Linked DNA regions of Homo sapiens: region 1 is linked to region 2. Evidence: promoter capture Hi-C in 16 types of primary human blood cells and fetal thymus (Javierre and others, 2016). All regions are on one chromosome and are shown on one strand. The core of a region is centred on a gene start or on the middle of the fragment in contact, and the rest is flanking DNA. Distances in the headings are between cores, read along the strand shown.

What was found. The method cuts DNA at HindIII sites, captures the fragments that hold promoters and counts their contacts. A CHiCAGO score of 5 or more calls a contact.
Region 1: a contact is called between a fragment that was not itself captured here and the fragment with the promoter of ALDH3A1 in region 2, in 11 of 17 cell types (naive B cells, naive CD8 T cells, endothelial precursors and 8 more). The highest score is 8.6, in naive B cells.

Annotation. Positions count from the first base shown.
Region 1 is chr17:19,515,226-19,521,919 of GRCh38, reverse strand. No RefSeq gene overlaps it. Among named protein-coding and RNA genes, the nearest start is that of TRW-CCA2-1, 10 kb to the right of the region's middle. RefSeq lists an enhancer at 2,375-3,094. The HindIII fragment of the contact is 1,956 bases long and covers 3,075-5,030 here.
Region 2 is chr17:19,745,920-19,752,207 of GRCh38, reverse strand. ALDH3A1 (aldehyde dehydrogenase 3 family member A1) reads left to right here and starts at 3,910. Exons shown (of 11, transcript NM_000691.5): 1 at 3,910-3,949. RefSeq lists enhancers at 1,674-1,953, 6,234-6,288. The HindIII fragment of the contact is 17,326 bases long and covers 1,185-6,288 here.

The DNA.
Region 1 (6,694 bases), core at 2,803-5,302, 230 kb after region 2:
GAGAATCGCTTGAACCAGGGAGGCAGAGGTTGCAGCAAGCCAAGGTCGCGCCATTGTACTCCAGCGAAACTATGTCTCAAAAAAAATAAATAAAAGAAAGAAAAGAAAAAGAAAAAGAAACCACACAAAGTATGTTGTCAGGACACAATAAAATTAAACTAGAAATCAATAACAGAAAGCTAGCTGGAAAAAGCCCAAAATATCTGGAGATTAAACAACACATTTCTTTTTTGAGACAGTTTCACTCTTGTTGCCCAGGGTGGAGTGCAATGGCGCAATCTCGGCTCACTGCAACCTTCGCCTTCCGGTTTCAAGCGATTCTCCTGCCTCAGCCTCTCAAGTAGCTGGGATTACAGGAATGCGTCACCATACTCAGCTAAGTTTTTGTATTTAGTAGAAACGGGGTTTCACCGTGTTGGTCAGACTGGTCTTGAACTCCTGACCTCAGGAAATCCACCCGCCTCAGCCTCCCAAAGTGCTGGGATTACAGGTGTGAGCCACTGCGCCGGCCAACAACACGCTTTTGAGTAACACATGGGCCAAAGAAGAAATCCCAAGAAAAGTTTTAAAACATGTTGGTCATGAATTTAAATCTTATGAAAATGAAAATACAAACTATCAGAATTTGTGGGATGCAGAATTAAAAAATAGTGCTTAGGGGGATATTTCTAGCATTGACTGCATCTATGAGAAAAGAGAAAGATCTAAAATCAATCATCTAAGCTTCTACCATAGGAAACAAGAAAAAGAAGAGCAAATTAAATCCAAAGCAAACAAAAGAAAAGAAAAAAAGAAATTAGAGCAGAAGCCAATAGAATTGGAAATAGGAAATCAATAGAGAAAAACCAACAAAACCAAAAGCTGGTTCTTTGAAAAGAAAAATCATTGTGGTTCTGTGAGCACAGAATAGGAGCAGAATGGGTGTAAAGCAGGCAACCAAGAGTGAGCGTCTGACATGTATGCTCAGCAGAAGTCCATATCCTTGTCCAAGATGTCAAAGAAATCTCTTGATACATCTCTGGGCTTGAAGCACTGCCCTACAAGGTGCCCCCATGTACACCCCGACAGAGGACGCCCCTCCGCCCCACCCAGCTCACACCTAGTCATATGCAGATGTAAGACCCTGAGATTTTAAGCCCAAATGGGCAAAACATGTGGCCACATCTTTTTTATGACTTTTTGTTCAAAACATGTGGCCACATTTTAAGGGGGCCTGCCCCTCCACACCCCTGGGTACTTCTCGCAAGGTGGAGACAAGAGAGTGGGAAAAGAAATAAGACACAGAGACAAAATATAGAGGAAGAAAAGTGGGCCCAGGGGACCAGCGCTCAGCAAGTGAGGACCTGCACCAGTACTGGTTTTTGAATTCCCTCAGTATTTATTGATCACTATCTCTACCATCTCGGCGAGGGGGATGTGGCAAGACTATAGGGTAATTGTGGGGAGAGGGTCAGCAGGAAAACATGTGAGCAAAGGACTCTGTGTCAAAAATAAGTTTAAGGAAAGGTGCTGTGCCTGGATGTGCACATACGCCAGATTTATGTTTGACTTTACACATCTCAGTGCAGTAAAGAACAGTATTGCCGCCAGCATGTCTCACCTCCAGCCGTAAGGCAGTTTTCTCCTATCTCAGTAAATAGAATGTACGATCAGGTTTTACACCAAGACGTTCCATTCCCAGGGACGAGCAGTAGACAGATGCCTTCCTCTTATCTCAACCGCATAGAGGCCTTCCTCTTATCTCAACCGCATAGAGGCCTTCCTCTTTCACTAATCCTCCTCAGCACAGACCCTTTACGGGTGTCGGGCTGGGGGACGGTCAGGTCTTTCCCTTCCCACGAGGCCATATCTCAGGCTGTCTCAGTGGGGGGAAACCTGGACAACACCCAGGGTTTCTTGGGCAGAGGTCCCTGCGGCCTTCCGCAGTGCACTGTGTACTCGAGACTGGAGAATGGTGATGACTTTTACCAAGCATACTGCCTGCAAACACATTTTTACCAAAGCACATCCTGCACAGCCCTAAATCCCTTAAACCTTGAGTCAATACAGCACATGTTATCTGCCAGCACAGGGCTGGGGCTAGGTCTACAGATTAACAGCATCTCAAAGCAGAAGAATTTTTCTTAGTACAGATCAAAATAGAGTTTCTTATGTCTTCCTTTTTCTAATAGATACAATAACAGTCTGATTTCTCTTTATTTCCCCCACAACATCTTTTATGACTCAGCCCAACAATCTCCAGGCAGTGCCCAAGGTTAATGCCTAGGCCAATTGCTGCTGCAATCTGGGCTCAGGATGTGCAGACCAGAGATAGCCAAGGGTGTCTGATAACTCTAAGGGCTTGGTCGTGCTCAACCAGGATGGAGCTCAAGCCCCCAGACTGGCCAGGAGCTCAGTTGACTCAGCACTGCTCTTGAGTGCAGGTCAGAATGGGACTAGTGTTGGATTTTGGAGGTTAAAATAAAATACTCCAGGTCTTGACAGAGATGACTTAGCTGAAGTCATTCTGTTCCCCATCAAACATGACCCCTGGACTCAAGAAACAGGCAGCATCATGGGATGGGAGGCTGAGCCCTGGAGTTGGAGACCAGCCTGGGCAACATAGTAAGACCTCATCTCTACAAAAAAATTTAAGAATTAGCCAGGCATGGTGTCATGAGCCTCTAGTCCCAGCTACTCAGGAGGCTGAGGTAGGAGGATTGCTTGAGCTCGGGAGGTCAAGGCAGCAACAAGCCATGATTGTGCCACTGCAATCCAGCCTGGGCAACAGAGTGAGACCCTGTCTCAATAAATAAATAAATAAGGGCCAAGCATGGTGGCTCAGCCTGTAATCCCAGCACTTTGGGAGGCCGAGGTGGCAGATCACCTGACGTAGGTGTCAGGCCTCTGAGCCTAAGCTAAGCCATCATAACCCCTGTGCCCTGCGTGTATACATCCAGATGGCCTGAAGCAACTGAAGAGCCACAAAAGAAGTGAAAATAGCCTTAACTGATGACATTCCACCATTGTGATTTGTTTCTGCCCCACCCTAACTGATCAATGTACTTTGTAATCTCCCCCACTCTTAAGAAGCTTCTTTATAATTCTCCCCACCCTTGAGAATGTACTTTGTGAGATCCACCTCCTGCCCACGAAACATTGCTCCTAACTCTACCGCCTATCCCAAAACTTATAAGAACTAATGATAATCCCACCGCCCTTTGCTGACTCTCTTTTCGGACTCAGCCCTCCTGCACCCAGGTGAAGTAAACAGTCTTGTTGCTCACACAAAGCCTGTTTGGTGGTCTCGTCACATGGATGCATGAGACAGTAGGGAGTTCGAGACCAGCCTGACCAACATGAAGAAACCCCATCTCTACTAAAAATACAAAATTAGCTGGGCATAGTGGCACATGCCTGTAATCCCAGCTACTCGGGAGGCTGAGGCAGGATAATCACTTGAACCCGGGAGGAGGAGGTTGCGGTGAGCCGAGATCACACCATTGCACTCTAGCCTGGGCAACAAGAGCGAAACTCCATCTCAATCAATCAATCAATCAATCAATAAAATAAAAAGTAGGAGAACATCCTGTCCGCCATCTTTCCAGTCCAGAAAGCTCTGTGCAACTACAAAGGCCACTTGGAGTCATCTGAGGGACTATGTTTGTAAGAAGTACAAGGACTCTCAGATTGTAAGCCATCTTTGGAGAAGAGTGTTTGCTTGGTCATGCCTGTGAGGGGCCACTGTGGACCAAGTGTGACACCAGACCAGAAGTAATATCAAAGACCTTGGAGGGAACCATCTTCCAGGAACCTGGGTGTCATCTGATCACTGAGGGAGAATGCCCAGAAGCACTTTTTGTCCTATAGCTCCATTTGAATCTGTCCCCAAGATATTAATAACAATGACAACTATAATAATGTAATACCATTGTCCATTACCTACTATTTGATGTAATGACATTTCCTTCTTGTAATATCATTAACAGCTGCCATATTCTAGGGCTGGGCTGAGTGTTTTCAGCCATTACCTCATAATCCTGACAAGGATCCTAGAGGGGGTTATTACTTGCTTTCTTCAGATGGGTGAATTGCAGTTCAAATGGTTTAAGTAACTTGCCTGGAGCTGAATGGCTAATCAGTGGCAGATAGGGGACTGGAAATTACTTCTGCCTGATTCCAGAAACAGAGTGGGAACAAAAGGTCATCATTTAACAACAGATAATCAAAAGACAGGAATATCCAACTCCATACACAGCTCATCACTCATTCAGCAAATGCACTGGGAGCACCTGCTGTCCCCAGAAATAAAACATTCAGAATGAATAAATTCCATATTTTCAGATGTGAGGAGTCAGAAATGAAAAGTAATGTCTCTAAACTGTCAGGATATGCCTAATTCCTAGAGTCAACAAAATGTCTAAATTCCCAATCATTCTGGTGGTTTGGTTCGTCAACTAAGGTACTTCAAATCAGTTTAATTCGGAACAGTTGGGCAGAATCTTTTCGGCCGCAACGTGCATGAGAATCACCTGGAAACCTTGTTCAGGTGCTGATTCAGAGTCTGGGGTAGGTCTGGGTGGGGTCTGAGAGTCTGCAGCTACTCCCAGGCCTCCTCTGCTGCGGGTCTGAGGCCCACCTTCTAAGCAGCAAGGCTGTAGAGAGTTATCACGAGAGTGTCAAAGCTGGAGGCCTCTCCAGCTTGCATTGGACACATGGGGTCACTGGGCCTCAGAGGAAAATGGGACTTGCCCAAGGTCACACAGGAATTTAGGGCAAGAGCTGGCCCCAGAAGTCCTGGCCCTCAGAGCAATGGAAGTATAAAGACAGCCCTGTTCAGCATCACCACAAGAATAACCCCCAGTTTTGAACACCTAACTGCCAGGCCCTATAACACATTCTCATTTGATTCTCACCAAAAAGAAAAAAAAAATCACAATGGGCATTATTATCTCTTATTCTTATTTCTTCATAGGTGAGAAAACTAAGGCTTATGTAAAAGCAACTGGTCAAACCAGGATTTAAATGTAAATATGTCTAACTTTAAAGCTTGTTCTTTCTGCTAAGGCACATACATTTCATCCCATTTCAAAATGTCTAAGACCAGACAATCATGGGCGGTCTTCAACAAGTAGGGGACTTAAGTTGCATTCAAGTACAAACTATCTCTATTTTTTTTTTTTTTTTTTTTTTTGGTTCAGGATCTCACTCTATCACCCAGGCTGGGGTGCAGTGGTGCGATCATCACTCACTGTAGACTCGATCTCTTGGGTTCAAGCGATCCTCCCGTCTCAGTCTCCCAAGTAGCTGGAACTTAGACTCCCGACTAATTATTTATTTATTTATTTTTGGTAGAGACTGGGTCTCATTATGTTGATAGACTGGTCTTGAACTCCTGGGTTCAAGCAATCCTCCCTCCTCAGCCTTCTGAGTTTCTGGGATTGCACTCCGGAGCCACTAATAAAAATAAATATTATTTAAATAATAATTTTAATTAAAAAATAACTAGGCCAGGTGGGGTGGCTCACACCCATAATCTCACCCCTTTGGGAGGCTGAGGCTGGAGGATCACTTGAAGCCAGTAGTCCGTACCAGCCTGGCCAACATAGTGAGACCCCATTGCTACAAAAAAATACAAAAATTAGTCAGGTGTGGACATGCTGGTAGCCCCAGACAGACAGGAGGCTGAGGCATCAGGATTCCTTGAGCCCAGGAGTTCAAGGTCCCAGTGAGCTCTGACGGCACCACTGCATTCCATCCTCGGTAACAGAGAGATATCCTGTCTCAGAATAATAATAGTTGGGGGTAGCAGTCTTGCCATGTTGGCCAGGCTAGGCTTGAACTCCAGGCCTCAAGCGATCCCTCCACCTTGGCCTTCCTAAGGCATTGGGATTATAGGCGTGAGCCACTGTATCCAGCCCCTAAAAGTGGAGTTTAAAGAGCTATAAATTATTTCAGTGTCTTATTGCAAAGTAAGGCAATTAAATAGACTATAGACATATGTAACACTTAAAATAGAAACACTTTAACCCAAGTTAAAACATTTAAAACAGGCCGGGAGTGGTGGCTCAAGCCCAGCACTTTGAGAGGCCGAGCCAGGCAGATCTCCTGAGGTCAGGAATTTGAGACTAGCCTGGGCAACATGGCAAAACTCCGTCTCTACTAAAAAATACAAAAATTAGCGTGGCGGTGGGCGCCTGTAATCCTAGCTCCTCGGGAGGTTAAGGCAGGAGAGTCGCTTGAACCTGAGAGGCAGAGGTTGCAGTGAGCCAAGATGGTGCCACTGCATTCCAGCCTGGGTGAGAGAGCGCAACTATGTCTCAAAAAAAATTTTTTTTTTTAAACAGAAAAACTACCTACTCACGGGTGTTCTGTTATTCCTTGTCAAAAAGTAACAAAGCTATTTGGGAAAATTGCGTTTTTCTTTTTCTTTTTTAAAATGTCTACTCCTCCCTTTGCACAGATTCTACCTGTGACTCGGTCTCCAGGCTTCCTTTGGGTTGACTTGGCTGAGTGACATCTGGCCCAGCACTCCGGGGCCATGCAAAGACCTTGGGGTGTGCTCCTCCCCCAGCATCTGGAATGTTATTGCTCCGTCTGCTCTGCTGTGGTCCCTCCAGTGGGCCACTGGCTCGGTCAGCTTTCCCAGTCTCTCCATAGCAGGTTTTGACCGCATCTTCAAACTGGAGTAGTCAATACTGTATGTGACAAGGGA
Region 2 (6,288 bases), core at 2,661-5,160:
GACCCACTGCCTAATTTTCTCCTTTCTACTCTCTCTTTTTTTTTTGAGACAGGGTCTACCTGGTCACTCTGTCCCCCAGGCTGGAGTGCACTGGCATGATTACAGCTCACTGAAGCCTCGACCTCCTGGGCTCAAGTGATCCTCCCGCTCAGCCTCTCAAGTAGCTGGGTGCATGCCACCACGCCCAGCTAATTTTTTTTTTTTTTTTTTTTTGAGATGGAGTCTCGCTCTGCCCTCATCCAAGTTGGAGTGCAGTGGCGCAATCTTGGCTCACTGCAACCTCCACCTCCCAGGTTCAAGCGATTCTCCTGCCTCAGCCTCCCGAGTAGCTGGGATTACAGGCATGCACCACCACGGCCAGCTAATTTTTGTATTTTAGTAGAGATGGGGTTTTACCATGTTGGCCAGGCTGGTCTTGAACTCCTGAGCTCAAGTGATCTGCCCGCCTCAACCTCCCAAAGTGCTGGGATTACAGGCGTGAGCCACCGCACCCAGCCTCCTTCCTTTTTTTTATTTTTTGTAGAGATGAGTCTCTCTATGTTGCCCAGGCTCCTTCTACTCGTATAAAGAAAGTGGTTTCCCCTCCCAACAACTATATCTAATCTAAATGTTCCTTGAAATTTAAGCAAACTCGCTATTCATTCATTCATTCATTCATTCAACACTTTTTTTGCTAGCTTTGGGTGAATTTGCTGAAAATCGTCTTGCTAAATGATTGCTTTTCCATCAGAGGGATGGTTAGGTGTAGTGGGCTGCTTCCGTATCTTCAGAGGTCTCCCTTGTGCCAGGATATGGTGCTGAACAAAAGTTGAGATCTCTGCCTTTGTGGACATTCCAGTCCAAGGGGGAATAAGGAGAGACATAGTCACACAAACAAAGATATGAACGCAGGTTGTGACAGGTTCCTGGAAGTAAGGAAGGTTTTATTTGAGAGGTGAGAGAGGTCAGGGAAGCTGAGATCTGAACATGGATAAGAGTTAGTCTGGTGCAGAGTGGAAGAAAAAGTGTCCCAGGGAGCAAGAACAGCATGTGCAAAGGCCTTGTGGTAGGAAATTGCCTGGTTAAGTCAAGGAATGCCAGCAGACTGGAGTGCAGTGAGAATGGTGGGAAGTGGTGCGAAGTGAGGCTGGCAAGGCAGCCAGGAGCCAGGCCAGGCAGGGGCTCACAGGCCATGGGAGGAAGCTTCCTGACAGCAAGGGGGTGCCACCCAAGGATGTGAATCAGGGGAGAGACATGCTCAGGTCCTTATCGTCCGCATGTCTCTCTGGCAGCCACTTGGAGAAGGCAGCTGAGCCTGACTCAAGGAGAGTAGGTAGAGGGCAAGAACAGTGGCCTGGGAGAGAGAGAGTGAGTGACAGCCCAGGTGAGGATGAGGCATTGGGGATGGAGTATTAGGACTTGCAAAGATTAACTCATGCTTGCAATCCCAGCACTTTGGGAGGCTGAGGCGGGAAGATGAATTGAGCCCAGGAGTTTGAGACCAGCCTGGGCAACATAATGAGACCCATCTCTACAAAACATTTAAAAATTAGCCAGGCATGGTGGTGGGTTCCTGTAGTCACAAGGTGGGAGGATCGCTTGAGCACCGGAATTCAAAGCTGCAGTGAGCCGTGATGGCACCACTGCACTCCAGCCTGGGCAACAGAGCAACACCCTGTCTCAAAAAAAAAAAAAAAAAAAGAAAAAAGAAAATCTGAAAAGCAAGTATCTGCAAGTTTCTAGCACAACCCACACTCCCACACTTTTGCCACTACTGAAACTATAACCAAAACCCAAACACGCAAACAAGGATTTTGTTCTTCGTAGATTTGAACTGCTTTTAGGCTCCTTGCTCTGACGCTTCCACCACTACTGCTGCCACTTTTGATGACACCCACACCACCTAACCTTTCCAGGATGCCCTCGGCCCGCCAGGCACTGTTCTGGTCACTTCGTGTACTCAATGCTGTGTTGCTGGCTTTTGCTAGTTGCTTCCATGGTTCTCCCAGGGGAGGGCCGCTGCCACAAGAAGTCAGCTCCGAATGGCCTTCGGCCTTGCATTCTGCCCTCTACTCAAGATCCAAATTCCCAGGAGAGTCAGGGAGGCCTCATGGGGAGCCCACCCCAACCCATGGCTGGCCTGGAGAAGGCACCTGGTTGATCATCTCACCAAGTAGGAAGGGGTTGCCTGCAAAGATAATCAGCTGCTGCCACCAGAAAAGGGGAGAGGCTGGCACAGGCTCGGTCTTCTCCCCTCTCAGGAGGCACCCCACTTTGCACCTACCACCCAGTCCAGCCCCTGCACAGGTGCGAGGTCCTGCAGATGCTTCTTTCTGCTGTTTCTGGAATGTTTCCCATTCTGTTAGTCTTATTTGGGGGTCTCGTCATTTCTTGCCTGCATTGCTGGAAGCTGCAGCCTTTGGGCTAGACCTTTCTCACACTGTGCCCTGTCCAGGGGGTTCTCTAAAACAAAAAATAGCAGACATTTGTCTGTCTGATAATCTCCTCAGCGCCCTGCACCCCCACAGCCAGCCTGGCCCACAGGCCTCCGTGAGCCCCCGCCCCAGGAGAGTCATTCACCTCCACACCTCCTGCTGGCAACAGTGGACACATCGCACTTTTTCGTGACATAACGTTCCCAGCCTCTGTGCCTTTGCTTCTGCTCTTCCAGCCCCCTTGCTGTTCCTTGCCCAAATGCTTCTCACTCAGCTCAGATGATGTTCCCTCCCACGGACTCTCACCCCAGCCCCTCTAGCATCCTCTGCCTACCTGGTTACTACAGTGTTCACATTATTTTGAAATTTCCTGTTTATTTTGTCAGTCAATAAATATTTATTGAGCATCTACTATAAATGCTGTATGGAGGTTACAGCAGTGAACAAATCAAATTCTAGCTGTCAGGAGTTAAGGGACAGGTAGCAAACAAGATATAAACGCTCCAGAGAAAAAATAATGGAGGAAGACGACAGCATTGTGCTATTTTCCACAGCACATTGGAGCGTAGCCGTGTGGGTGGATGTAGGGGAAGGGGGCTCCAGGTGGAGAGAAGCAGGAGGGCCAGAGCACATCCTCAGGACTCGTAGGCCAGGACCGGAACCTTGTGTTTTCCTCGAATGAAATGGGAAGCAGGGACCCCATGCTGGTAAGCAGTCTGCCTGCAGGCGGGTGAGGGTGGCGGGAAGCGCCTGGTGAGAGGGGCCGAGAGTCTGTTCCACACCTGCCTCCTCCCCACAGCGTGGTGCAGAGCAGGAGCCCAGCGAACATTGATCAGACAGCGTGGGAACGGCTTTTCCAGACTCCTTCCTTCCCAAGCATCTCTGGTTTTCGGTGACCACACAGACCCTTGGCCCTCTTCTCAGCTATTCAACGAGAGAGCAGATTTATGGATTGGAGACCCCCATCAAAAGTCCCCAGCCTGTGGCTCCCCAGGGTTAGGATCTCTGACTCAATGGGGCCCTGTGCACACTGGGGGATGTGAAGGGCCCGGGGCAGCGGTGGCTGGGGGTGCGTTTCGGGGGAGCTGCATGCTCTCACTGTGGTTCGTGGCTGAGCCCTGCCGATCTTATGTAACCAGAGAACTCAGAGAACCGCATCTGGCAGCGGCAAGTCTGGAAAGCTGGAAGAGCTCCATGCCAGGCTGAATCAATCAGCAGCCCCCACGCCCAGGGCAAACATAGGCTCTTTTGAAGATTGGAGATGTGCCCTGCCCAAGCCTTCAGAAACATTCTCGCATTTCAGAAGTGAACAAAAGCAAACAGCCCGGGACCTAATCCCCAAAACCTGGGCTGTAGGGAGCAGAGGTCCAGAGGACGCCACACCCCACATTTGAATATTTTTTTTTCTTGTCACGCAAACTTCCTGGGCAGGAACTCCAAGGGCTCAATGGACGGGAAGCAGGGTCCTTAAATACGTCCCCTCTTGGCTCTTGCCGTTCCAGGAGCCCCAGTTACCGGGAGAGGCTGTGTCAAAGGTAATCCTCTTCCCTGCATTCCTTATTTTTTCTCTTGTCTAGGTGGAGTCTGCACTCAGAGCCGGGGCCCTAAGTGTCAAGAGTCCTACATCATCTCTCCAGGGGGTCCCTGCCTCTGGGACCATCATCTCTGGAGCATCCTCCTGGACCTCTGGCAGCTCTGCCATCCCCCAAACCAGGAGGCAGAGGTCCCAGGGATCCGCGGAGCAGGGACACCAAGGTGGCCGTGGAGTGAGAGGCCCTGATGGGCCGTCAGACTCCATGACTGGAAGGAAGGCAGCAGAGCCGAGTGCTAAAGGCATGAGCTGCTGACAGAGATGCATGTGGGTTCAAACCCTGACATGCCACCTGCTAACTGTGAGATCAGATACAGCATTAAACGTTTCTCAGTCTCCCTTTCCTCATCTGTAAAATGCACTCATAACCGTTTCTTCTTCATGGGCATCACTACAGAGCTTTTGTGAGGATGGAAGGCAATGAGGAGGGGAGGAGGTGTCACTGGGGGGCAAAGTCAACACTGGCACAGGTGAGAGGAGCGGGGTGCAGGAATGTGGGGTGTGAGGCGACGGGCTCTGGGGAGGCCCCCAGTGCATGCTGCAGCAGCTCCCATTTGGGTGCAGCTGCGACGTGATGGTGTCCACTCATCTCTGTGAAGTGGCACCTTTGTTAACCTGTCTCTCGGGGAAGTCCTGGGAAGGCCGTCCAGCCCAGAGACCACAGTTCCAAGTGGCGATGCTGGGGTGCAAGGCCAATCCCGTCCCACGCTCACCAGGCTCTTCCCACCTGGGCTGCCTGCCTTGGTTTGACCGTACAAGGCTCGGGAGAGAAGCGGGACCTTCTCTCCTGGGTTGTGGTCAGCAGGAGGGGCCTGGCCCATGGGACTGAGGAGGTCCCAGTGAGGGGGCTTTCCCAGCCTCCTATCAGAACATAGGGAGGGACCATGGAAGGGCCAGGCTTAGAGCACCCTCAATGCCAGCAGGTCCCTCCTCCCTGTGCAGAAAGCCTGGGATTAGGGGTCAGCCTATGGGGAGGGGAGGCAGAGGAAGGATTGGAAGCCACTCGCTGGAATGTAGGCAGGACCATATATCTATATACAATATAATTATATATTACATATGATATATAGGGTTTTTTAAAAAAATGGAAATACCCTATTTCTGCTGATGTTAAAAGTTATGCCGGGTCTGCAAGTGGGCTGAGTATCTCAGGAAGGGGAGTAAGGAACTGGTAACAGTGGCCCCTCTGTGGGGCAGCACCTGACAGCTGATGGAGCAGGGAGGAGGGAGGCAGACTTTTTTCTGTGCCCCTTTGCTATATTTTACATTTTGTTTCATGAGCATGTAGTGCCTATCTTAAAACGCACCAAAATTTAAAAAATACAAGCTCATTGCAAAAAGTCAAACATTGCATAAGAGGAAAACAGATCATCAATAATTCCACCCCCATCAGTTGTCTCATCGTGTCGGGGGCTACCGTTCTAGTCCTTTCTTGCATGTTAGAGCGTGCACGCCCACACACACACGCACACGCGCGCACACACACGCACATGCACACACACGCACGCACACACACACGCACATGCACACACACGCACACACACACATGCACACACACGCACACGCACACACACACACGCACACACACACATGCACACGCCTGGTACATCTGTTGTTCTGTAACTTGTTTTCTGTTTTTCTTTCTTTCTTTCTTTCTTTTTCTTTTTTTAGATGGAGTCTCGCTGAAAGTAATTATATTACTTACCCGAGGCCTTCAAATACCGCTTCCACTGACAGCCTCTTGACTTCTAGCAAATCTCACTAACCTTGCCTTACCTCCTACCACTAATCTAATAGGAGAACTCTGTGATTATGGCTCCATTCTCCCGGTCAAAGTGCTGGAGTGCAATGGCCCAATCTCGGCCCACTGCAACCTCCTCCTCTCAGCTTGGTTCAAGCAATTCTCCTGCCTCAGCCTCCCAAGTAGCTGGGACTACAGGTGCCTGCCACCACTCCCAGATAATTTTTGTATTTTTAGTAGAGACAGGGTTTCACCATGTTGGCCAGGCTGGTTTTGAACTTCTGACCTCAGGTGACCCGCCCACCTCAGCCTCCCAAAGTGTTTGCTAGGATTATAGGCGTGAGCCACCGCGCCCGGCCTGTAACCTGTTTTCTTTCTTATCCCCAGTGCCTGAGACACCCCTGGTGCAGAGAGAGCCCCTACAAACATGCTGAATAGCCTGCTCCACCTAATCCCTAAATACTGCACAGTAAACCCTTACGTGGGTGTGACAGGAGTCATTTAAACTGTCTCCTTTCTTTCGGATCTTTGGGATGTTTACA